Linked DNA regions of Homo sapiens: regions 1, 2 and 4 are each linked to region 3. Evidence: promoter capture Hi-C in 16 types of primary human blood cells and fetal thymus (Javierre and others, 2016). All regions are on one chromosome and are shown on one strand. Each heading gives the region's core, a stretch centred on a gene start or on the middle of the fragment in contact. The rest is flanking DNA. Distances are from core to core; before and after follow the strand shown.

Region 1 (5,435 bases), core at 1,715-4,214, 680 kb before region 3:
GCATGGTGGCTCATGCCTGTAATACTAGCACTTTGGGAGGCCGAGGAGGGTGGATCATGAGGTCAGGAGTTCAAGACCAGCCTGGCCAACATGGTGAAACCCCATCTCTACTAAAGATACAAAAAATTAGCTGGGTGTGGTGGCGGGCTCCTGTAAACCCAGCTACTCGGGAGGCTGAGGCAGGAGAATTGCTTAAACCTGGGAGGCGAGGGTTGTAATGAGCCGAGATCGCGCCATTGCACTCCAGCCTGGGCGAAACGGTGAGACTCTATCTCAAAAAAATAAAAATAAAAATAAAGTTTAAATCAAATTATATCAAAACCCATGATAAAACATCTAACCCAAAACTGGAATATTGACGACAACTTGTATTTACCTCTGTGTTTTTCCCCATCCCATGTCTTGCCTTTATCGCTAAGATAGCCAGTGCCAGGTATTTTAAAAACTCTCTTAAAAGTTTTCATTATCACGCACTTGTGTATACTTATTCTGTATAAGCGCTTCTATATACACTTCAACAATGTATAATTTGGTTTTATTTTCATTTTATTTATTTATTTATTTATTTATTTATTTATTTATTTATTTATTTATTTTAAGAGGTAGGGTCTCACCATACTGCCCAGGCTGGTCTTGAACTCCTGAGCTTAAGCAAACCTCCCATCTCAGCCTCCCAAAGTGCTAGGATTACAGGCATGAGCCACCATGCCCAGCCATGGTTTTACTTCTGAGTTTAAAAAAAATGTTATTATATATGAACCTTCTGAGACTTACATTTCTAAAATTCAACCAGGTACTGTGTGTACCTCAATAAATGCATTATTTTGACCATGAACATGTAGTTGCCTCTAGTATTTTTATCTATTAAAAATGGCATTTTTTCCATTCTCATATGTCTCCTGTTGCATGTGTGCAAAATATTCTTTCATGTAAACAGCTAGGAATCGAATGGTTGGGTCACTGGAGTACACTTACTGGATAAAAAATATTATCAAAAACCTTCAGCAAATACAATTTGATGTGGAAGAGTTCCCACACTGATTCTTGGCAAAGACCAAAATACTTTTAAATATGCCACTCCTAAGTGTTTAAAATGAAGACACTCATTTTGATTTCCTGAGTTGGGGGTGGGGGAAAACAATGGAGAACAGCCCTTCTCCTCCTCTATTTTTTTTTCTTTTAACATTTCTTCCAATTACTAGAGATACAGTAAACGCAAGTGACACAGACAAGAAAACATGGAGCAGACCCTAACAGAAAAAGTAGGGAATAGAAACTATGTTCATAAATAGGAATTCCACACAAGAGAATTATGGGAATGAGTAAGACAGCAAGATTCCTCCAAAAAACCTGCACTGCCAAGAATTTTCCCAACTAGAACACTCACCAGAGAAAACGGTGGCCAAGTTTCAAACTGCCCTCGCAGTGTCGGGATTGGCCATTGACATCAACTCAGCCCGATTGACGTGTACGGTGCTGTAAACTGGGTTCAAACTTTTTTCTACTGCCTTTCTATCTTAATATTTAGCAAATCCAAACTGGGGACAAGGGAGGAGAAACAGCACCACTCTCAAAACAAACAAGTCGATTTGTACGTTTGTGTGTGTGCCAACTGCTTCATTACTAAAGTACACATGAAGTTTAGGGACAGAGCGCCGGAAGCACTGTGGATATTTTACCAGTGACACTTAAGTATTATATTTTCTTTGGGGTCAACAGGAACTGAATTTTCCCTTTACTAGGTTTGTCTGATGATAAACCTCATCCTTCTTCAGATATAAAATTGTCTCAAGCGTTGCTGCAACATGCAGTACACTGCAGTGCTAATTAATTTCTTTTCTTTTTCTTTCTTTTTTGAGACAGAGTTTCGCTCTTACTGCCCAGGCTGGGGTGCAATGGCCCGATCTCGGCTCACTGCAACCTCCATCTGCCGGGTTCAAGCGATTCTCCTGCCTCAGCTTCCCGGGTAGCTGGGATTACAGGCGTCCGCCACCACGCCCAGCTATTTTTTTGTACTTTTAGTAGAGACGGGTTTCACCATGTTGGCTAGGCTCGTCTCGAACTTCTAACCTCAGGTGAGCCACCCGCTTCGGTTTCCCGAACCGGGATTAGAGGCTTGAGCCAAAATTAGTTTCTAACAAGGCTAAAGGAATCTTGGAAATCGTCTTTGTAGCAAGTAAGAAATACCTGCTGTAAGAACAGTGAGTGCCAGTTCTCTTTGGGAAGACTGAGTGGCTCTGAAAAGAGCCTTTGGGGTGTGGGCCGAGACTGACCGAACGTTCCGCGGTGGGCGGGCTCACTTGGAACTGGTGTACTTGGTGACGGCCTTGGTGCCCTCCGACACCGCGTGCTTGGCCAGCTCCCCTGGCAGCAGCAGGCGCACGGCCGTCTGGATCTCCCTGGAGGTGATGGTCGAGCGCTTGTTGTAATGCGCCAGGCGGGAAGCCTCGCCGGCGATGCGCTCGAAGATGTCATTGACGAAGGAGTTCATGATGCCCATGGCCTTGGACGAGATACCGGTGTCGGGGTGGACCTGCTTCAGCACCTTGTACACGTACACGGAGTAGCTCTCCTTGCGGCTGCGCTTGCGCTTCTTGCCGTCCTTCTTCTGGGCCTTTGTCACTGCCTTCTTGGAGCCTTTCTTCGGGGCAGGAGCGGACTTTGAGGGCTCGGGCATGACTGGGAGTAACTGCCGGAAAATTGGAGGAAAAAAACAGGAAGACGGTAGCTCTGTCAACCTACCGCTTATTCACTGCTTCTTAACGCAAGTGGGGTAGAGAATGAAGTTGTGCGTTTAACCAGTGGTGAGTCCTGGAAACGTATATTAACTTTGTCCAATCAAAATAAGTGTTTTTCAAAACCGCAATCCCATTGGTTAAAGCGAAACTGTAATGTTAGCCAATAGCACAGCTTAGTTTTCGTGCCTCTGTTGACTATAAGTAGCGGAGCTTTAGCGTTACGTCAGTCTCAGGAACGTTACTGATTGAATTTTTTACGTCATGTCGGGACGTGGCAAGCAGGGCGGCAAAGCTCGCGCCAAGGCTAAGACCCGTTCTTCAAGGGCGGGTCTTCAGTTCCCAGTGGGCCGAGTGCACCGACTGCTCCGCAAGGGCAACTACGCTGAGCGGGTCGGTGCCGGAGCGCCGGTGTACCTGGCGGCGGTGTTGGAGTACCTAACCGCCGAGATCCTGGAACTGGCTGGCAACGCGGCCCGCGACAACAAGAAGACCCGCATCATCCCGCGCCACTTGCAGCTGGCCATCCGCAACGACGAGGAGCTCAACAAGCTGCTTGGTAAAGTGACCATCGCCCAGGGTGGTGTCCTGCCCAATATCCAGGCCGTGCTGCTGCCTAAGAAAACTGAGAGCCACCACAAGGCCAAGGGCAAGTAGCGGGGCTGGAGCAGTTCATTACTCATACCTCGGTCCAAACCAAAAAGGTTCTTTTCAGAGCCACCTACTTTTTCACCAAGTAGAGCTGTGTTCAGTTTTATCTGATAGTCGAGTCATTTTGCAATGGCACTGGAATGCTGTATGGAGATGAAGCAAAACTAAACGGCTTTTACACCACATTGTTTTGAGATAGAAAGTAGACATTGAAATGTTTACGGTACATCAAGAAATTTAGGCGCGGCAGCTCGCGCCTGCAATACAGCTGAAACAATAAGAAAAGTGAGGCAAGAGAATAACAAAGGGAGCTGAAAGTTAGAGGGCAGAATAAGTAAAAGCAAAGGGCAGAAGTAAGGTAGATGGGCGGGTGAACAAGAAGCGAGATAACAAGCAGTGAACCTTTTGCAGCCGAAACAAAAGAGATAATGTGAGCAAGGACCTCGTGGCCGGCAAGATCTGGAACAAACCAGTTTAAGAGGCAGCTCTTCAGAGATGGGCATGCGTATTAGAGAGGAAAAGTATCCTTAACAAAAGCCCGTATGATAATCAGCTACTTAAGGTTCATGCATATGGGCTACATATCATGCATATATTTAAGATTATAAGATAGAGGCACAAGCCACAGAGGACAAAGTAAGCAACAAACCTATCAATAAAAGGGCAGATGCTGGCTATAGATTAGGCAGCACTGGGAACAGAAAACATACACACACGCACGCACACACATAAAATGACTCAAACTACAGCAAGCTGACGCTGATCTCACCTCGCAGAGGTCAGTCCGCTCTCTCCCACCCCCGAGAGTGTAATACTCTGTTTACTAAACTTTTGCTGCTTTGCTTTGCTATCTGTGTGTGTGTCGTCCAATTTCTACCGGGCACCAAGAGCCTGGAACTGTTTGGCACCATCCGGTAAACAGAACCGCTTTGGGAAGCCGAGGCGGAAGGACCGCTAGAGCCTTGGAGTTCGAAGCCAGCCTGATCTTTACAAAAGTAAAATAACTAACCGTGCCTGGCGTCTCATAGCCTGTAGTCCTAGCTACTCGGGAGGCTGAGACCAGAAGGATCACTTGAGCCCAGGAGTTCGAGGCTGCAATGAGCTATGATTGCACCACTGCAGTCCAGCTTGTGTGACAGAGCAAGAGTGTTTCAAATGAACCTAGTGTCAGATATTTACTTTCTGTATTACAGAGGACTGAAAGCTAGCTAAATAATACTTTTCAGTGTACCTGGGTTCCAGAGATAAAATTGGTAAACTAACCTTTGCTCCTTACTTGGGCTTTTAGTTTATACTTCATAAGACCATGGAAGCAAAATTTAGGTATCTGACCCTTCTGCACAATTTAGGACCCCGTGTGTGTTTGGCCTACCTATTCGAGTTCAATTGAATCTTTCTGAGCATCTATGGTGTGCCAGGCACTCTCCTAAATGGGAATACAATATTAATCCAGATACATAAAGTCTCTATCCAAAAGGAGCTTCAAGTTGGCTTGGGCAAAGAATACATGTCATAATGGACTGTTTATATAAATGATGGGAAAGGGTTGGGGTTAGGGTGTGAGATTACTTTAGAACGTGTTATTTAAAAACAGTATGAATGAAGGACATTGTAAGTCAGGTTTTTTATTATATCATGGTCATATACTCCTGTTCCTGTCAGTTTTTCCTGCTTCCTTTCTTTCACCAAGATCACTCCTTTCCTTCTCAGATCACCAAGTCCTCCTAGCTATAGAGAGGGCCTTCTATTCCTCTCCACCTAAACTTATATAAGCTACTGTTTTCCTCATACAGACATGTTAATGAAAATGAATTTCTACAGGATCTCCAGTCCATTGAAATACATTAATTTTTGAGTCTCTTCACACATTTTTATTTCCTAGATTTAAGTCTTGATTGCAATCACATACAACTAGTATTTCTTGGAATAAAACAGCAATCACAAAAATCATAAATATCACATTGTTTAAAAAAATTTATTATTTGATGTTGAGGACTCCATCCTGATTTCAATGAATTAATTCATTTGTTCCCTTTTAAAATGTCATCT
Region 2 (5,212 bases), core at 206-2,705, 890 kb after region 3:
GTTTCTCATTGGTTCTTTTAGTGTCTGAATATATGATAGGCCATTTCTGAACTCCTAAATCTCATCGGCTCTCCCAGAAGCTCAACCTTGCATAATTTGACCTTTCAACTATAAGTATGTAAGTCAGAAGTGGTTTTTTTTTTTTTTTTTTTTTTAAATTTTTTTAAACACCTGCTTTTCGATTGGCTGAAATCTGTGTTCAGGAGATAGCACAGTCTACTTTGCCGAATATAGATTATAAGAGTTTAGCTCTTGCGTTTTACTAGAATCAATCACTTTCCTTCTTCTAAACAAGTATTTAAATACTTCACTGCGTCTGGATGTGGAATGCAGGGCAGCAAAGCTCGCGCCAAGGCTAAAACGCACTCTTCCAGGGCTGGTCTCCAGTTTTCTGTGGGCCGAGTGCACCGCCTCCTCCGCAAGGGCAACTACGCCAAGCGGGTCCGGGCCGGTGCGCCGGTGTACCTGGAGGCGGTGCTGGAGTACCTGACCGCCAAGATCCTGGAGTTGGCGGGCAACGCGGCCCGAGACAAGAAGACCCGCGTCACCCCCCGACGCCTGCAGCTCGCCATCCACGACGAGAAGCTCAACAAGCTGTTGGGCAAAGTTACTATCGCGCAGGGCGGTGTCCTGCCCAATATTCAGGCCGTGCTGTTGCCCTGTCTATACAAGTGACTGACTAGGCAAACAGGACTAATGAGAAAATGTTTAATATCTCAAGTAAGTGCTTTAATGTAGTCGGGAAGAAGCAAGTTCAGTAACGTTTACAAAACCTTGTAAAGTTTAGATGGACAGGGCCACTGCAGTGTTCAAGTTATCCTGCAGAAGAGGCTAGTGGGGGTGGTATCCTGGAATATCATCAATAGGACCCAACGAAAAGTAAATGATAAGAGTCGTTGGAAAACCTAAAATTAGCCTGTGCCTTAAAAATTCTCAACCGAAGCAAAACACCATTTGGGACAAAATAGAATTCAGTTAACATTTGTTGCTCACTGTTGTATGTCGGTGACTTCTTGGCTCGTGATTTCCCAGGTACATCACCCAGGAATCCTGCCTTATAATGGTCAAAGGTTTCCAGCTAGCAGCAGTCCAGGTGACTCAAGAAAACGGCACAAGATAAACTTCTCAAAACGTGGTCCTCCGAATCTGGCCCCACAACACATCTACTGAATGAGAATTAGCGTCTTCCAAGTCTTAAAGTAGTCGTTTACGGACTACAGCTTGAGAAGCGCAGAATTAGAACTTTAAGAAGTTAACGTTCTTGGATCGCAGACTAACCGAGAAGAGAGGATTCAAAAATGAAGTGATTCATCCAATCAGATTTTCCAGTAATTCACCAATCACATCGTTGGACTCTTCAGCCAATGGTTTTGTTGCGCGGGTCTTTTGAAAATCAACAAGGCCAATTAGAATGTTTCTGAGTATATATAAGGGCAGTTTCCACTCTGCCAAGTGGCTGAGTTTTTCTTTCAGGTAGTCTGAGATGGCCCGCACCAAGCAGACTGCACGCAAGTCCACCGGTGGCAAAGCGCCGCGCAAGCAGCTGGCCACTAAGGCGGCTCGGAAAAGCGCGCCGGCCACCGGCGGCGTGAAGAAACCTCATCGCTACCGTCCCGGCACCGTGGCTCTGCGCGAGATTCGCCGCTATCAGAAGTCGACTGAGCTGCTGATCCGCAAGTTGCCTTTCCAACGCCTGGTGCGAGAAATCGCTCAGGACTTCAAGACAGATCTGCGCTTTCAGAGTTCCGCGGTGATGGCCCTGCAGGAGGCCTGCGAGGCCTACTTGGTGGGGCTCTTTGAGGATACCAACCTGTGTGCCATCCATGCTAAGCGAGTGACTATCATGCCCAAGGACATTCAGCTCGCTCGCCGCATTCGTGGGGAGAGAGCGTAGAGGTTTCCGGGCAGTAATTCTATCCAACTTAAAAAGGCTCTTTTAAGAGCCGCCTACTTTCACCCGAAAATAGCTGTGATTAACTAATCAAATCTTTGAAACTAAACATTGGTTTTAGTACTTAAGTCCTCATTTGATTGGCTAAAGTTAATGGTAAGCTTGCTATATTTGTTCCCGTGCTTTTTCCCGAAAGTGCCAGATTGTCAGCGTCCTTTTCTAAACTGGCTTTTAGGGGTTTGGAGCTTCGATTTGGTAGTGGAAGGGGCCACCTGGGGGCGTTTATATACATTGTCTCAAGCGTTAGTCGCGTTGTCTACTTACACCCATTATAGATGGGATTTTTTTTCGTTGTGTATTTCTGGTTAATCCCTTTTAAAACTTTACAGGTATGAGCATTGGCAGTTGAGAGTAGGTAGGGATATCCTTGGTTGCTGCTTTTTCGTGTCTGAAGCAGCTATTTCCACAATTCCCCCTTTTTTTAAACAGTTCTTGGTTTTTCTGTGAAATGATCCATTTTTTAATTCAATATTAGAAATTGGCGGCAGAAACGAAAGCCAGATTGGCCTCTACATTACTGGCAGCATGGGCATTACGTGGGAACTTGTTAGAAGCTCCCAGGGCATTACATGGGAGCTTGTTTCAATCCCCATCTAGGGCTGGAGTCAATCTGCATATACCTCAGATGATTCTCATGAACACTGATTTAGGAAGCCTAGGTTGTTGGTTTTGGTCTCATCAGTAAAGGCATCCTGCCTGTGAACTCTTACAAGGAGTGAGCTTTTGCAAAATGCATGTTTATTTATGTTACAGAATGAAATATTCTATGAAATGTTCTCTAAAGCAAGTGCACAGAACAATCCCCTAAAATAGTTTGATTTCTTTACAGATCAGTTTTCTCAATGTAACATTACAGTCACATGGGAAGGCTTTAGAAAAATCTTTACCTGGGGTTCAATGAGACTAATAGCAATCTAGAGTGGGCCCAGGGAATGGTAATTATTAAAATTCAGGTGCTTCTAACAGCTGGGGCTGAGACTCCTTGCTACATAAATTTTAATACTCTTATTAGCTCTGGTTTGACTCTAGGCTTAGCAGTTTTCTAATTGAATCAGTTTCCTTGTAGTTTGCCTTCAGAGAGAATATACTGGTCTCTAAAGACTTTCTGGCTTGCTTGACTATCTTTCAACACCTGGCTTTTATAAGAATTTCTTAGGGCAACACTAATGTAAGTTTTTTCTTTTTTGTTTTGTTTTGTTTTTTGTTTTTTTGAACCACCGAGGTCCTTTTAGTGATTGGAAGTATCAGGTTTTTAGGGATGTTACAAGGAGGAACACATACCATCCTGGGCTGCTTGGCATACAACCAAGATATGTTTTCATATAGAACCCTTCCTTTACAGATTAGCACAAGGCCCTGTTTGGGTATTCAGCAGATCCTTCTTTATGATCTTTATTAATTTAGCAACTTGTCATTTTTTTTCACATATTGCTTTTATTTTAAAAACTTATTTGACATTCCAGAATATATGGGAAAGGAGATAATAGTTTAATAAAACCTATGTTCCTCTCATCCAGCTTCAATAACAACATTGGCTAAGTGTTTTATCTATTGATTTTTGTAAAGCAAATAATGAAACTGCCTAATGGGTTCACCTTGCCCACTGCCTAGACAAAGCTGATTTATCTAGGCAGGGAATTGCAATAGAGAAAGTAATTCACGCCGAGCCAGCTGTGCGGGAGACCGTAGTTTTATTGTTACTCAAATCAGTCTCCCCAGCATTCCAGATGGGGGGGAAGCCGATGAACCAGGAGTCCTGATTGGTCAGGTCAGAGATGTCATTATAGGGAGCTGAAGGTGTCTCCTTGGGCTGAGTCAGTTTCTGGGTGGAGGCCACAAGATCGGATGAGTCAGTTTACCAATCTGGGTGGGGCCAACTGATCCATCAGGTCTGCAAAATATCTCAAGCACTGATCTTAGGAGCAGTTTACGTGGGGTCAGAATCTTGTAGGTTCCAGCTGCAGGACTCCTAAACCATAATGTGTGTGTTTTTTTTTTTCTTTGAGACAGTCTCACTGCGTTGCCCAGGATGGAGACTGTAAACTCTGCCTCCCAGGTTCGAGCGATTCTCCTGTTCAGCCTCCCAAGCAGCTGGGATTACAGGCGCGCGCCACCATGCCCAGCCAATTTTTGTAGTTTTAGTAGAGACGAGGTTTCCTCATATTGGCCAGGCTGGTCTCGAACTCTGGACCTCAAGTGATCCACCCGCTTTCGCCTCCCAAAATGTTGGGATTACAGGCGTGAGCCATTACGACCTACCCCTAAACCATAATTTCTAATCTTGTGAGTAATTTGTTAGTCCTACAAAGGCAGTCTAGTCCCCAGGCAAGGAGGTTTGTTTTGGGAAAGGGCTGTTATCATATTAGTTTTAAACTATAAACTAAGTTCCTCCCAAAGGTAGTTCAGCCTACACCCAGGAGTGAACAAGGACAGCTTGAAGGTTAGAAGCAAGATGGAGTTGGTTAGGTCAGATCTCTTTGTCTCAGTTACAATGTTGCAATGACAATTTCAATATCATTTCATCTATTTTATATATGTTATCTGCTATTTAACACCTTATTATGGACCAGGTGCCTTGGCTCACTCCTGTAATCCCAGCACTTTGGGAGGCCGATGTGGGAGGATCACATGAGGTTAATTCTTGACAAACCTGGCCAACTTGGTGAAACCCCATCTCTACTAAAAATATAAAAATTAGCTGGACCGGGCCTGGTGGTGCACGCCTGTAATCCCAGCTACTGGGGAGGCTGAGGTAGGAAAATCTCTTGAACCTGGGAGGCGGAGGTTGTAGTGAGCCAAGATCATGCCACTACACTCCAGCCTGGTGACAGAGCGAGACTCCATCTCAAAAATAAAAACAAAAATAAATTATGATGCCATCATTACTTTTATAACAAATAGTATTTCTTTTTTAAAAATTTAATATGATCCATTTTGGTTGACATATTTCTTCAACATTGATTTTTATTTACTGCAAACAACACTGGTTGAGAATTTACAATGTACCAGATGCTGGTCTGTGCATTGGAAATACACCCAGAGAACAAAACACAAAATTTTTGCTTTCATGGAATTTACATTTGAGTCTGGAATAGACAGAAAATAAACTAGATATGTTTATGTAATATGTTAGATGGTGAGAAGGAAAAAAAAATAGAGCAAGACTAAGGAGTGTCATGGGAAGCTGAAATTTAGATAAGGCAACCAATGAAGACCCCACTAAGAAGATAATATTTCAGCAAAGAGCTGAAAGGTGAGGAA
Region 3 (5,870 bases), core at 2,303-4,802:
GCCATAGGTAGAGTAAAACAGTTTTCTTTCTGAAAATGTGGTTGGCAGACTGTGTAAGATACTTCCATACCAATATTAGTGCATTCATAAAATGCAAGCTTTTAATCTCACAATTCCCCTGTTTATACCAGATTTCTAGCAATGCTCACTCAAAGCTGCAAAACATTATTGTGAACCAGAGAACTTCACACCTCTAAGATAAACATGTGCTTTGCACTGAGTATCATATGGTACACGCCAAGCAAGCTCTCTACTTTTCGAGCAAATCATACAGCATGGGTTTTATTGAGCCCTATTACTCACTTGTCACTACAATTTTATTCTGTAATAGATCTAGGACCCTAGCTCTCTCACTAAGAGATAGCCTCTGAGTCAGAGTCCATAGATTTCTGCTACTCAGGCCAGTAAGATCTGAGAAAATGTGTTCTGGAGAATTGCAAGATCAAAATGTTTATTGCTTTAGCAGTTTTATCATTCACTTGTGGCAAAATAATTGACAAGAACTGATCCTTTAGGGTCAATACATACTTGATCCCTGTCTTCACTCTTGTAAGACTGAGTCAAGATAAAATAGACTAAAAAGAAAATTGAAGTAGAATGTGATACAAGTGAACATGAATAACCACTACAAATGCTATTAAATTACTGAGAAGAGGCCTAGAACCTGACCTGTTGGAGAGATGATATCCTACAGTATAAGGCAGCTCAGCTCAATTACAATATCTCTGAGTTTCAGAATCCATGTCAGCTGGATGGACAGTTGGAGAAGAAATGGGGGCTATTTTAGCCCCAAGAAGGAAAGAACAAATCTCTTTTGCTGAAATTTTTGATAAGTTGCTAAAAGTATGAGTATTCTTTTTTTTTGAGACCGAGTCTTACTCTGTCACTCAGGCTGGAGTGCAGTGGTGTGATCTTGGCTTACTGCAACTTCCACTGCCTGGGTTCAGGCAATTCTCGTGCCTTAGCCTTCCGAATAGCTGGGACTACAGGCCTATGCCACTATGCCAAGCTAATTTTTGTATTTTTAGTAGAGACGGGGTTTCACCATGTTGGCCATGCTGGTCTCGAACTCCCGACCTCAGGTGATCTGCCCGCCTCGGCCTCCCAAAGTGCTGGGATTATAGGCATGAGCCACCACACCTGTTTGAATACTAACCTTCCACCAGGGCCAGGAGGGACGAAGTGCCATTAATGTGTTCTCAGAGTGCTGTGCTACTAACTAGAACTGGGCTCATGGAAGCGCCTCTGGGGATCTGCCTGTCTCCAGCCACCTCCTACTGGTCCTAGGTAGCACCAACTACTTCTTTCCAGCCACCTCCGTATCTCAGATCAGCTCTCCTCCACTCCCGCCTCACCCAGTCTACTTGGCTCTTTAGAACTCATTCTAGAAACTGAACGGGCTAGAAATGGGGGCTGTTCTTCTGGGCCATTATTCCCCCCCACCCAAATTCCTTCAATTACTCAAATTTCTTTAATTTTCTCCAGATGATCAAAGGTTACAGTTTTTCAGCATTGGTCCAGCTAGGATACTTAGAAACGCGTGATTAATAATTTGTCTTTTGTGTTTTAAGAAAGATCTCCACAACAAACCTGGATCCCCTTTTGAACAGTCCTTTCCTCATGCCTACCAGTGTTTGAAAGTAAAAGTTTTCCATTAAAAAAAAATTACCTCAGTTTCTTCACATACAGCCAATGCCAACAAGACTGTAGGGCTTGGGTAGGGTTGGGAAGAGAATCTTTGGAGAGGGGAAAAAAAAGACAAGGCAACAAGCGTAGACACTCTCTGCTTGGCTGACTGGTTGGGGCACCATGATGAATACTAGTGTTTTTTGTGTACAGATTAGATCGTAAGTCAATTCAATTTTGCAAGGGTTTTTCCGAGACTGTCTCCACTCCAGTATGTTGAAAAATTGAGGCGACGTCAAGGTACTGCTCAGTACGTTGAGAAATTGAGGCGACATCAAGGTACTGCCGTGACTCGGATTCGAACCGAGGTTGCTGCGGCCACAACGCAGAGTACTAACCACTATACGATCACGGCACGCCACCAGAGGCCGCTGCTTGTGGGGCTCTTCCTTTGCTTATTTCCCAGAAACGTCTGTTTTTGTCATCTAAAGAATGGTGCAGTCTTTCGTCCTTATTTACACACCTACCCAGTTTACTTCCTTATCCACTCCCCGTCCCCAATATTTTGCTTATGGCAAAGAAGCCAAAGGTAACACATTAAGTTTCATTATATGGAATTTTCCCAGCGTGGTGGTTGTTTTTGGGGGTTGGTAATACTGTGCTTGTAAACTCATTATTCTCACTTCTATCTCCAACCCACGCATGTTTCTTGCTCAGTTTAGCAGTGTGGTCCTCAGATCTTTGGCAACAAAAGGAAGAGGGCGCTGCTTTGAAGTGGACCTGCCAGATCCCATTTTTTGCCAAACTAGTCAGAATCTTCGGGGGCTTGGCATGGAATCTGGCATCTCGACAGGTGCCAGAAGTGAGTTTCTCATCACGAGGAACTATGTGGCTTCGTCCTGACCCAGGTACCTATGAGAAGCCAGTGAGGCGCTCGCGCACTCAGCCTGCCCACCTGAGCCGTCAGGAAATGTCCGGCGGCGCTCGCACCTCAGAGTGAAATTTCTTTCTCCCTTTCATACCTAGTTTGCCAGAAGAGGGAGATAAAAGTGCCTCTCCTGTGGCTCCAAAGCTCCGTGGGACTTCCCTCCTGCCCCGCTTGCTGTTTTAGGAACGTAGCCTCTAGAGTCAAGGTCCTGGTCGTGTTTTCCCCTTGATACCAAATGATTTTCTTTCTGTAAAATCATTCTGGTCTTAAACTCCTGAACTCAACTGATCCGCCCCTCTCGGCTTCCCAAAGCGCTAGGATTACAGGAGTGAGCCACCGCGCCCGGCCTCTTCTCTTTACCTGGTTAAATTTGTTTAATGCTTCAGCTTCAACTCAAGAAAGCTTTTCAAATCAAGGAAGCTTTTCTTGACCTCCCGTCTCCACGCAACACATGGTTCCTTGGTTTTTTTTTTTTCCTTCCCTCCCTTCTTTCCCTCCTTCCTTCCTTCCTCTCTCCCTCCCTCCTTCCCTCTCTCTTTCTTTTCTTTTCTTCTTTCCTTCCTTCTTTCTTTCTCTCTCTCTCATTCTCTTTCTTCCTTCCTTCCTTTTCTTTCTTTCTTTCTCTTTCTTCTTCTTTTTTTTTTTCTCAGAGTCTCGCTCTGTTGCCCAGGCTGGAGGGCAATGACACAATCTCGACTCATTGCAACCTCCACCTCCCGGGTTCAAGCGATTCTCCTGCCTCAGCCTCCCGAGTAGCTGGGATTACAGGCGTAAGCTACTACGCAGGGCTAATTTTTGTATTTTTATTAGAGAGGGGGTTTCACCATGTTGGCCAGGCTGATCTATAACTCCTGACTTCAAGTGATCCACCCGCCTCGGGCTCCCAAAGTGCTGGGATTACAGGCGTGAGCCATCATGCCCGGCCACTTGATTCTTTTTCACTTTTCCTTTAGTGCTCTTATATCAGTTTGTAATGTATAATACCAGAGTTATTTGATTAATGTCAGCCTCCATCCTCCCGCTCCATATGCCCCAAGACGAGGAATATCTATTTTGTTCAATAATCTATCACTAGGGCTCCCCATTTGGTAGGTTCTTTATCAATATAGTTTGGCTGCAGAATGAATGAATGGGTGGGCAGAGACTACCATCCAAAGCTCTATGAAAGCAACTTCTCCCAGCAGCATCTGGCCTAGTTCAGCAGGCTTGCCTTTTGACCTTTGATGGGAAAAGATTGGTAATAATTTAAAGAAAGGTTGGGAGGTCAAGACAGGAGTATTGCTTGAGGCCATGAATTTGAATCAAGTTTGGGCAACATAGTGAGACCCTGTCTCTACAAAAAAAATAAAAAAATTTAACCAGGCACAGAGGTGCATGCCTGTAGTCCCCATTACAAGGGAGGCTGAGGCAGGAGGATCACTTGAATCCAGGAGTTTGAGGTTGCAGTGAGCTATGATTGTGCCTCTGCACTGCAGCCTGGGCTACAGAGCAAGATCCTCCCTCTAAAATAATAATAATAAATTTAAAAATGAAGGGAGTTCAAAATTACCCCTGCAGCTATCCATAATAAAGCTTCTCAGCAGAGCCAAAATAATGTGCTTAATTTCCTAAAATTTTCTTTATCTCCTTTCCTCTGTCTGGATTACACAAAAGTATTCTAATTACTAATAGGTTTACTGAATGAAGAATTACCTGTTTCCTAGCATCATTGTTATTATTATTATTATTATTATTATTATTATTATTATTTTATTTTATTTTATTTTTTGAGATGGAGTCTCGCTCTGTCGCCCAGGCTGGAGGGCAGTGGTGCGATCTTGGCTCACTGCAACCTCCGCCTCCTGGGTTCAAGTGATTCTCCTGCCTCAGCCTCTTGAGCAGCTGGGACTACAGGCGCGTGACACCACGACTGGCTAATTTTTTGTATTTTTAGTAGAGACGGGTTTTCACTGTTTCAGACAGGATGATCTCGATCTCCTGACCTTATGATCCGCCCACCTCCGCCACCCAAAGTGCTGGGATTACAGGCATGAGCCACCGCACCCAGCCCTAACATTAATTTGTTTGATCAGGGAAGTGACCTAAGGGCTTTCTCAGTCTCAAAGACATGAGCTCCATCAAAGAAAATGCAGCCAGTAAGAAGGAAATGCAAGCTGCCTCTGTCTCAAGTCTCTTTGAGTTAGATCTTTCCTTTTCCTTTGCTTAGGGCCTTCCCCAACCCCATTTAGAAAGCTGCTGTGAATGAAAGTGCTTTTCAGCATTTTCTGCTGGGATGTTTTTGGAAATTGGGTTGATCTGCATGTGCTTCTCCATAAAAAGAGGGAAAAGCTGTATCTTTGATGTCATAGGCCTAGAAAAAGGCCTCTTTCCTTGTGCTTATTTTGGAAGGCCATTTTGAAGATTTCATCTGACACATTCACTACAGTGATTCTGGGAAGAATAAGAGACAGGCTGGCACAGTTGAACCTACCAGTTCTACCTTTACCAATGCCATGCACTCTTCTACTTCTGAATTTCTAAATTTTCTGTAAGAAATAATTAAAAGCCCTCTTTCTTTCAAGGGCATAGTTCCAGCAATATTTTCCTCTTTCTCCTGTATTATTAAATAAAATTCTATTTGATCTCTATAGGATCTTTCGCATCAGCATTCAAAGCTGCTTTTATTTCTTTCATCTGAAAGAATTGTTCTCTTGCTTTCACTTTTCCTTTCTGCTATTGATAGTACTGTCTTTCAGTTTATAGCCATATTTCCTTGAAGTGTCATCAAACCCAAATCTTCTTTCATCTCATTTCTTTATTACACTCCTTCATCTTGCTTTCTTCTTCAACACTCCACTTAAACTGATCTTTTACATTTCACTAGTTGAAATGGCTATGTTAGTCCTCAACTTATATGATTTCTCAACACTATTTGATACATTGGATTTCTACCTCCTCTTAGAAACTGCTGTGGTCTGAATGTGTTCCCCAAAATTCTTATGTTGATAGTTAATTGCCAATGTGATAGTATTAATAAGTATTAAAACAGTGGCCAATATGTAGAGCCATCTCTCCATATCTAGAATGCACATGTCTGGGACTCAAGAAGTAGAGGTGTGAGTGGCACTTCTCATTATTCCTCAGTGATCCATTCAGACAATTTTGTATCCTATCCCTGTGACCTTGATCGAGCTCTGAGGGAATGGGTGTCTTTGTGCCCAGTGGATAAATATTTCCACTAGAGAGCATTGTCACCTTTCAAATCAATTGAAACCTGAAAACTGCTTCTGGCCATTTTAGTCTTTTCATGCCACTGAACCAATATGCAGGGAAAAGT
Region 4 (5,378 bases), core at 766-3,265, 940 kb after region 3:
CTTTTCTTTTCTTTTTTTTTTTTGAGACGACGGAGTCTCGCTCTATTGTCCAGGCTGGAGTGCAATGGCATGATCTTGGCTCACTGCAACCCCCGCCTCCCGGGTTCAAGCGATTCTCCTGCCTCAGCCTCCCGAGTAGCTGGGATTTCAGGAGCCCACCGCCATGCCTGGCTAATTTTTTTGTATGTTTAGTAGAAACAGGGTTTTGCCACGTTGGCCAGGCTGGCCTCGAACTCCTGACCTCAAGTGATCCGCCCATCTCGGCCTCCCAAAGTGCTGGGATTATAGGCATGAGCCACCGGGCAGGGCAGGCTTTTTACTTTTTGTGGAGGTGAGGGGGCTGTCTCGCTTTATTGCCCAGGCTGGTCTTGATCTCCTGGGCTCAAGCGATTCTTCTGCCTTAGTCTTTCAAATTGCTGGGATTACAGGTCTGACCTAGGGCGTCAGGCCGTTACTGCTTAGTTTCGTTTAGTGTTTATTTTAGAATACTGTGTTAATTGCTCCTTTTGAAAAGAGAAATCCAACAAACACAATTCTCACTAGAGGAATGTAGTCTTTTTTTTTTTTTTTTTTTTTGAGACGTAGTCTTGCTCTGTTACCCAGGCTGGAGTGCAATAGCGTGATCTCGGCTCACTGCAGCCTCTGCCTCCCGGAGTCAAGCGATTCTCCTGCCTCAGCCTCCCAAGTTGCTGGGACTACAGATGCACACCACCACGCCCGGCTACTTTTTGTATTTGTTTAGTAGAGACGGGCTTTCATTATGTTGGGCAGGCTGATTTCGAACTCCTGACCCTATGATCCGCCCTCCTTGGCCTCCCAAAGTGTTGGGATTACAGGCATGAGCCACTGAGCCCAGCCGGAATGCAGTCATCTTTAAAACTTAAAAAGCCCGCCCTGAAATGCTAATGGGCAGCTATCCTTCTTTGTTCTCTCGTTTCTGTATTAATATTTCACCCTTTTCTGACAAGTGCACATGAATAAACAGCCTGTGTATTAATGATAAATTTGTATACACAGCATGGACCTATACACAAAATAACGCAGTGAAACCTTGGTGTCACAACCTCGGTTTCTATTCTTGTATACCTTTATAAACGCATTTTTACTGCAAAGAAACACCAGTAAGATAAATTAGTGCATGAAATGTGAGCAAGGATTTCAATAAAGAACTGACCAGTAACGTCAGAAGCGTTCGTTAAAAATTAGGACAGTGAACATTGAGATTTCAGGCATCGTATGTGTATTCCAGCACTTTACAGAAAAGGTGGGTGGCTCTGAAAAGAGCCTTTGGTTTCTGGGACTCGGGATCACTGACGGATTTGACTAGTAATCATTTCACTTGCCCTTGGCCTTATGGTGGCTCTCCGTCTTCTTAGGCAGCAATACGGCCTGGATGTTGGGCAGGACACCGCCCTGCGCGATGGTCACGCGACCTAGAAGCTTATTTAGCTCCTCGTCGTTGCGGATGGCTAGCTGCAGGTGGCGCGGGATGATGCGGGTCTTCTTATTGTCGCGAGCCGCGTTGCCAGCTAGCTCTAAGATCTCGGCCGTCAGATATTCCAGCACCGCTGCCAGGTACACTGGAGCGCCGGCCCCGACTCGTTCGGAGTAGTTGCCTTTGCGGAGGAGGCGGTGCACACGGCCAACTGGAAACTGAAGACCGGCCCTGGAAGAACGCGTTTTAGCTTTTGCCCGAGCTTTGCCGCCTTGCTTTCCACGTCCAGACATAGTGGCTTCCTAACAGCAGAAGAACTAACAATCCACTGAATAAAGAAAAAGAATGGGCTCGATGGAGGAATAAGAAGCTAGTTATAGTCATCGGTAGAATTGTGAAAGGCGCAATTTGATTGGTTAAAATTGTTCTTTGACGAGCCAACCAATTAGAAAGGAAATAAGGTGAAGGCTATTTTACATGTATGCGTCACTAACACATTGCCCAATCAGAGCTGGATATTTTGAATTCTTTATTTGCATGAAAGGCCTATAAAAGGAGAGACTCTAGACACGAGCTTTTATTTAAGTGCGTTCATTCTCACTGCTGTTATTGTTTTCTGACAGCATGCCTGAACCAGCTAAGTCAGCTCCTGCTCCGAAGAAGGGTTCCAAGAAGGCTGTGACCAAGGCGCAGAAGAAGGATGGCAAGAAGCGCAAGCGCAGTCGTAAGGAGAGCTACTCCGTGTATGTGTACAAGGTGCTAAAACAGGTTCACCCCGATACTGGCATCTCATCCAAGGCCATGGGCATCATGAATTCCTTCGTTAACGACATCTTCGAACGCATCGCAGGCGAGGCTTCCCGTCTGGCCCACTACAACAAGCGCTCGACCATTACCTCCAGGGAGATCCAGACCGCCGTGCGTCTGCTGCTTCCCGGAGAGCTGGCCAAGCACGCAGTGTCCGAAGGTACCAAGGCTGTCACCAAGTATACAAGCTCCAAGTAAATGTGTGCTTAGGTGCTTTAAAACTCAAAGGCTCTTTTCAGAGCCACTCAAGTCTCACATAAAGAGCTTTAATATTGAATTTCACCGTTTTCTAGGGAATAATTTTTCCGATTTTGTAATCCCAGCACTTTGGGAGGCCGAGGCGTGCGGATCGAGACCAGTTTGGCTAACGTGGTTAAATCTCGTTTCTACTAAAAATACAAATATTAGCCGGGCGTGGGGCAGTCGCGTGTCATCCCAGAGACTCGGGAGGCTGCCGCAGGAGAATCACTTAAACCCAGCAAGCAAAGGTTGCAGTGAAAAGACATGGCGCTTTTGCATTCTAGCCTGGGCGACAAAGGCGAGGCTTCGTCTCAAAAAAAATTGATCAGGAGATACTCCTGTTCTGTGTTGGCAAGATCCTGTAATCCTAGCACTTTGGGAGGTCGATGCATGAGGCTTTCTTCAGCTCAGGAGTTAACAGATTTGCCTGGGCAACATAGAACTCGTCTCTGCAAAAAAATGAAGCTAACCAGGTGTGACGGCTTGCGTCTGTACTATCATTTACTCGGTAGGCTGAGGTGGTAGGATAGCTTAAACTCTCGGGCTAGAGACTGCAGGAACATGTGAATACGCTAGTGCAATTCCAGCCTGGGCAACACTGGAAAGGGTAGGAAGAGTAGTCTTTGGGTCCCTAAAGATCACCTGATAACAAGTTTGACTTTTCTGAGCACTCTTGTGGAGTTTGTTGTGGAGGGAATACCATGGGCATTGGCAATGTAAAGTTGATCTAAAAAATCTCGTTTTCCGCCGTGCGCGGTGGCTCACGCCTCTAATCCCATCACTTTGGGAGGCCGAGACGGGCGGATCACGAGGTCAGGAGGTCGAGACCATCCTGGCTAACACTGTGAAACCCTGTCTCTACTAAAAAAATACAAACAAAATTAGCCGGGCGTGGTGGCACTCACCTGTAGTTTCAGCTACTCTGGAAGCTGAGGCTGGAGAGTCACTTGAACCCGGGAGGCGGAGGTTGCAGTGATCAGAGATCGCGCCACTGCACTCCATCCTGGGCGAAAGAGCTAGATTCCATCTCATAAAAAAAAAAAAAAAAAAAAAAAAAAAAAAATTACAGTTTTGGCTGGCTGGGCGCAGTGGCTCTCGCCTGTAATCCCAGCATTTTGGGAGGCGAGGCTGGTGGATCACTTGAGGTCAGGAGTTCAAAAACAGCCTGACCCACATGGTGAAACCCCGTATCTACTAAAAATAACAAAATTAGCCGGGCGTGGTGGCGCATGCCTATGTTACCCCAGCTACTTCGGAGACTGAGGCAGGAGAAACGCTTGAAACCGGGAGGCGGGGGTTGCAGTGAGCCAAGATCCCGCCATTTCATTCCAGCCTGGACAACAAGAACGAAACTCCGTCTCAAACATAGAAACCATTAGTTTATACTCATTAATCAAATTTCTAAAATGGGACCAAAAAAAAAAAAAAGGTCACTACTCCATAGTACTCCATGAGCAACCTCAGGTTTCTGACAACATAGTACTCCAAAGTATGGCGCCTTGACATAGTAAATATTCTAAGACATTAGTAGAACAACATAGACAAGAATGTTCGTATGACCTTCCTCTGAAGCAGGTCTTAAGACCCTCCTGGGAGTCTTGCAGAGTATGCGAGGAATCTGAACAAATAAACCTTGCTAGATTTCTCCTTGTTTATTATCCTTAGCTCATATTATTTTTGTCTTGTTATATTTCTGCATGACTCTCTTCATCAAACCTAGTGCAAACACACTCAGGTTTAAGCCCTTCTTCAGGTCCTTATTTCCTTATGTCATGTAAAACTTCATATTAAATGTGAATGTTTTTCTCTTGGCCGGGCGCGGTGGCTCACGCCGGCTCACGCCTGTAATCCCAGCACTTTGGGAGGCCGAGGCGGGCGGATCACGAGGTCAGGAGATCGAGACCATCCTGGCTAACACGGTGAAACCCCGTCTCTACTGAAAATTGAAAAAAATTAGCCGGGTGTGGTGGCGGGCACCTGTAGTCCCAGCTACTCGGGAGACTGCGGCAGGAGAATGCCATGAAGCCGGGAGGTGGAGCTTGCCGTGAGCCAAGATCGGGCAACTGCACTCCAGCATGGGCGACAGAGCAAGACTCCGTCTCAAAAATAAATAAATAAATCAAAATAAAAATAAAGTGTATATTTTTCTGTTGTTAATCTGTATTTTGTTTCAGGGCCCCAGCCAATGAACATAAGATGGGTAAAAGGAAACGCTCTTTCCTCCCCTACAACATACAGTAGGGGTGGGTGTGCATCTGTGTTCTGTGTGTTTGTCTTTGTGGAGTACAAAAGCTAGCATAACATAGAAAAGGTGTGGAGAAAAGTATTCCCAGAATGAAAATGTTTGAGAAGTGTGTTCGCTAGGGCTGCCAAAACAAACTACCAAAGACTGTGTGGCTTAAAAAAATTAATTTTGTCACAATTCTGAAGGCTACAAGTTCAAGATCAAACCAGTGAGCATGATTGATTTTTTCTGGGGCCACTCTCCTTGGGTTTTCCCCTCTCTGGTCTTCCCTGTGTGTGTGTGGGTTGTGTTTTAATATCATCTTATAAGGACAGCAGTCAGAATAGATTAGGACCTACCCTTAAAACCTCATTTTACACCTTTAAAGACCTTATCTCCAAATAGTCACATTTTCAAGTAGTTGGTATTGGACTTCAATGTTTGAATTGTGGGCTGACTTGGATTTCAGTCAGGCAATTCAGTCAATATCAAAAATTATGGTGATTAGGCTTCTAAATAGTACATGAAATAAGTATTTCACAGGCATCTGAAACTCAGCACAACCAAGACAGACCTTATGATACTCTACCTGGCTTCACTTACTCATCCAAGTTTGAAATCTAGTCCCCATTCCAGACTACTCCCTTTTCTTTTCTGCAAATATTTAAAAAT

What was found. Contacts are between HindIII fragments. The CHiCAGO score rates a contact against its expected background, and 5 or more counts as called.
Region 1: the fragment with the promoter of H2AC15 here is called in contact with a fragment that was not itself captured in region 3 in 13 of 17 cell types (total CD4 T cells, naive CD4 T cells, naive B cells and 10 more); the score reaches 11.2 in total CD4 T cells.
Region 2: a contact is called between the fragment with the promoter of H3C8 here and a fragment that was not itself captured in region 3, in 15 of 17 cell types (fetal thymus, non-activated CD4 T cells, activated CD4 T cells and 12 more). The highest score is 19.4, in fetal thymus.
Region 4: a contact is called between the fragment with the promoter of H2BC8 here and a fragment that was not itself captured in region 3, in 1 of 17 cell types (total B cells). The highest score is 5.2, in total B cells.

What each region holds. Positions count from the first base shown.
Region 1 is chr6:27,835,904-27,841,338 of GRCh38, reverse strand. It overlaps H2AC15 (H2A clustered histone 15), which reads left to right and starts at 2,964. Exons shown (of 1, transcript NM_003510.3): 1 at 2,964-3,459. The coding sequence starts at 3,000. The coding sequence ends at 3,392. It overlaps H2BC15 (H2B clustered histone 15), which reads right to left and starts at 2,770. Exons shown (of 1, transcript NM_003520.4): 1 at 2,229-2,770. The coding sequence starts at 2,677. The coding sequence ends at 2,297. RefSeq lists enhancers at 2,519-2,728, 3,059-3,148, 3,219-3,328, 3,599-3,648, 3,719-3,808 and 3 more. The HindIII fragment of the contact is 16,643 bases long and covers 1-5,435 here.
Region 2 is chr6:26,267,656-26,272,867 of GRCh38, reverse strand. H3C8 (H3 clustered histone 8) reads left to right here and starts at 1,455. Exons shown (of 1, transcript NM_003534.3): 1 at 1,455-1,950. The coding sequence starts at 1,484. The coding sequence ends at 1,894. It also overlaps the pseudogene H2AC10P. RefSeq lists enhancers at 1-16, 347-686, 2,414-2,553, 3,327-3,923. The HindIII fragment of the contact is 12,049 bases long and covers 1-2,054 here.
Region 3 is chr6:27,154,298-27,160,167 of GRCh38, reverse strand. TRH-GTG1-5 (tRNA-His (anticodon GTG) 1-5) reads right to left here and starts at 2,041; the gene lies at 1,970-2,041. RefSeq lists a silencer at 1,881-1,930. The HindIII fragment of the contact is 1,152 bases long and covers 2,977-4,128 here.
Region 4 is chr6:26,213,325-26,218,702 of GRCh38, reverse strand. It overlaps H2BC8 (H2B clustered histone 8), which reads left to right and starts at 2,015. Exons shown (of 1, transcript NM_003518.4): 1 at 2,015-2,503. The coding sequence starts at 2,060. The coding sequence ends at 2,440. It overlaps H2AC8 (H2A clustered histone 8), which reads right to left and starts at 1,782. Exons shown (of 1, transcript NM_021052.4): 1 at 1,266-1,782. The coding sequence starts at 1,728. The coding sequence ends at 1,336. RefSeq lists enhancers at 962-1,071, 987-1,638, 1,352-1,771, 1,639-2,290, 2,202-2,551 and 2 more. The HindIII fragment of the contact is 5,797 bases long and covers 1,443-5,378 here.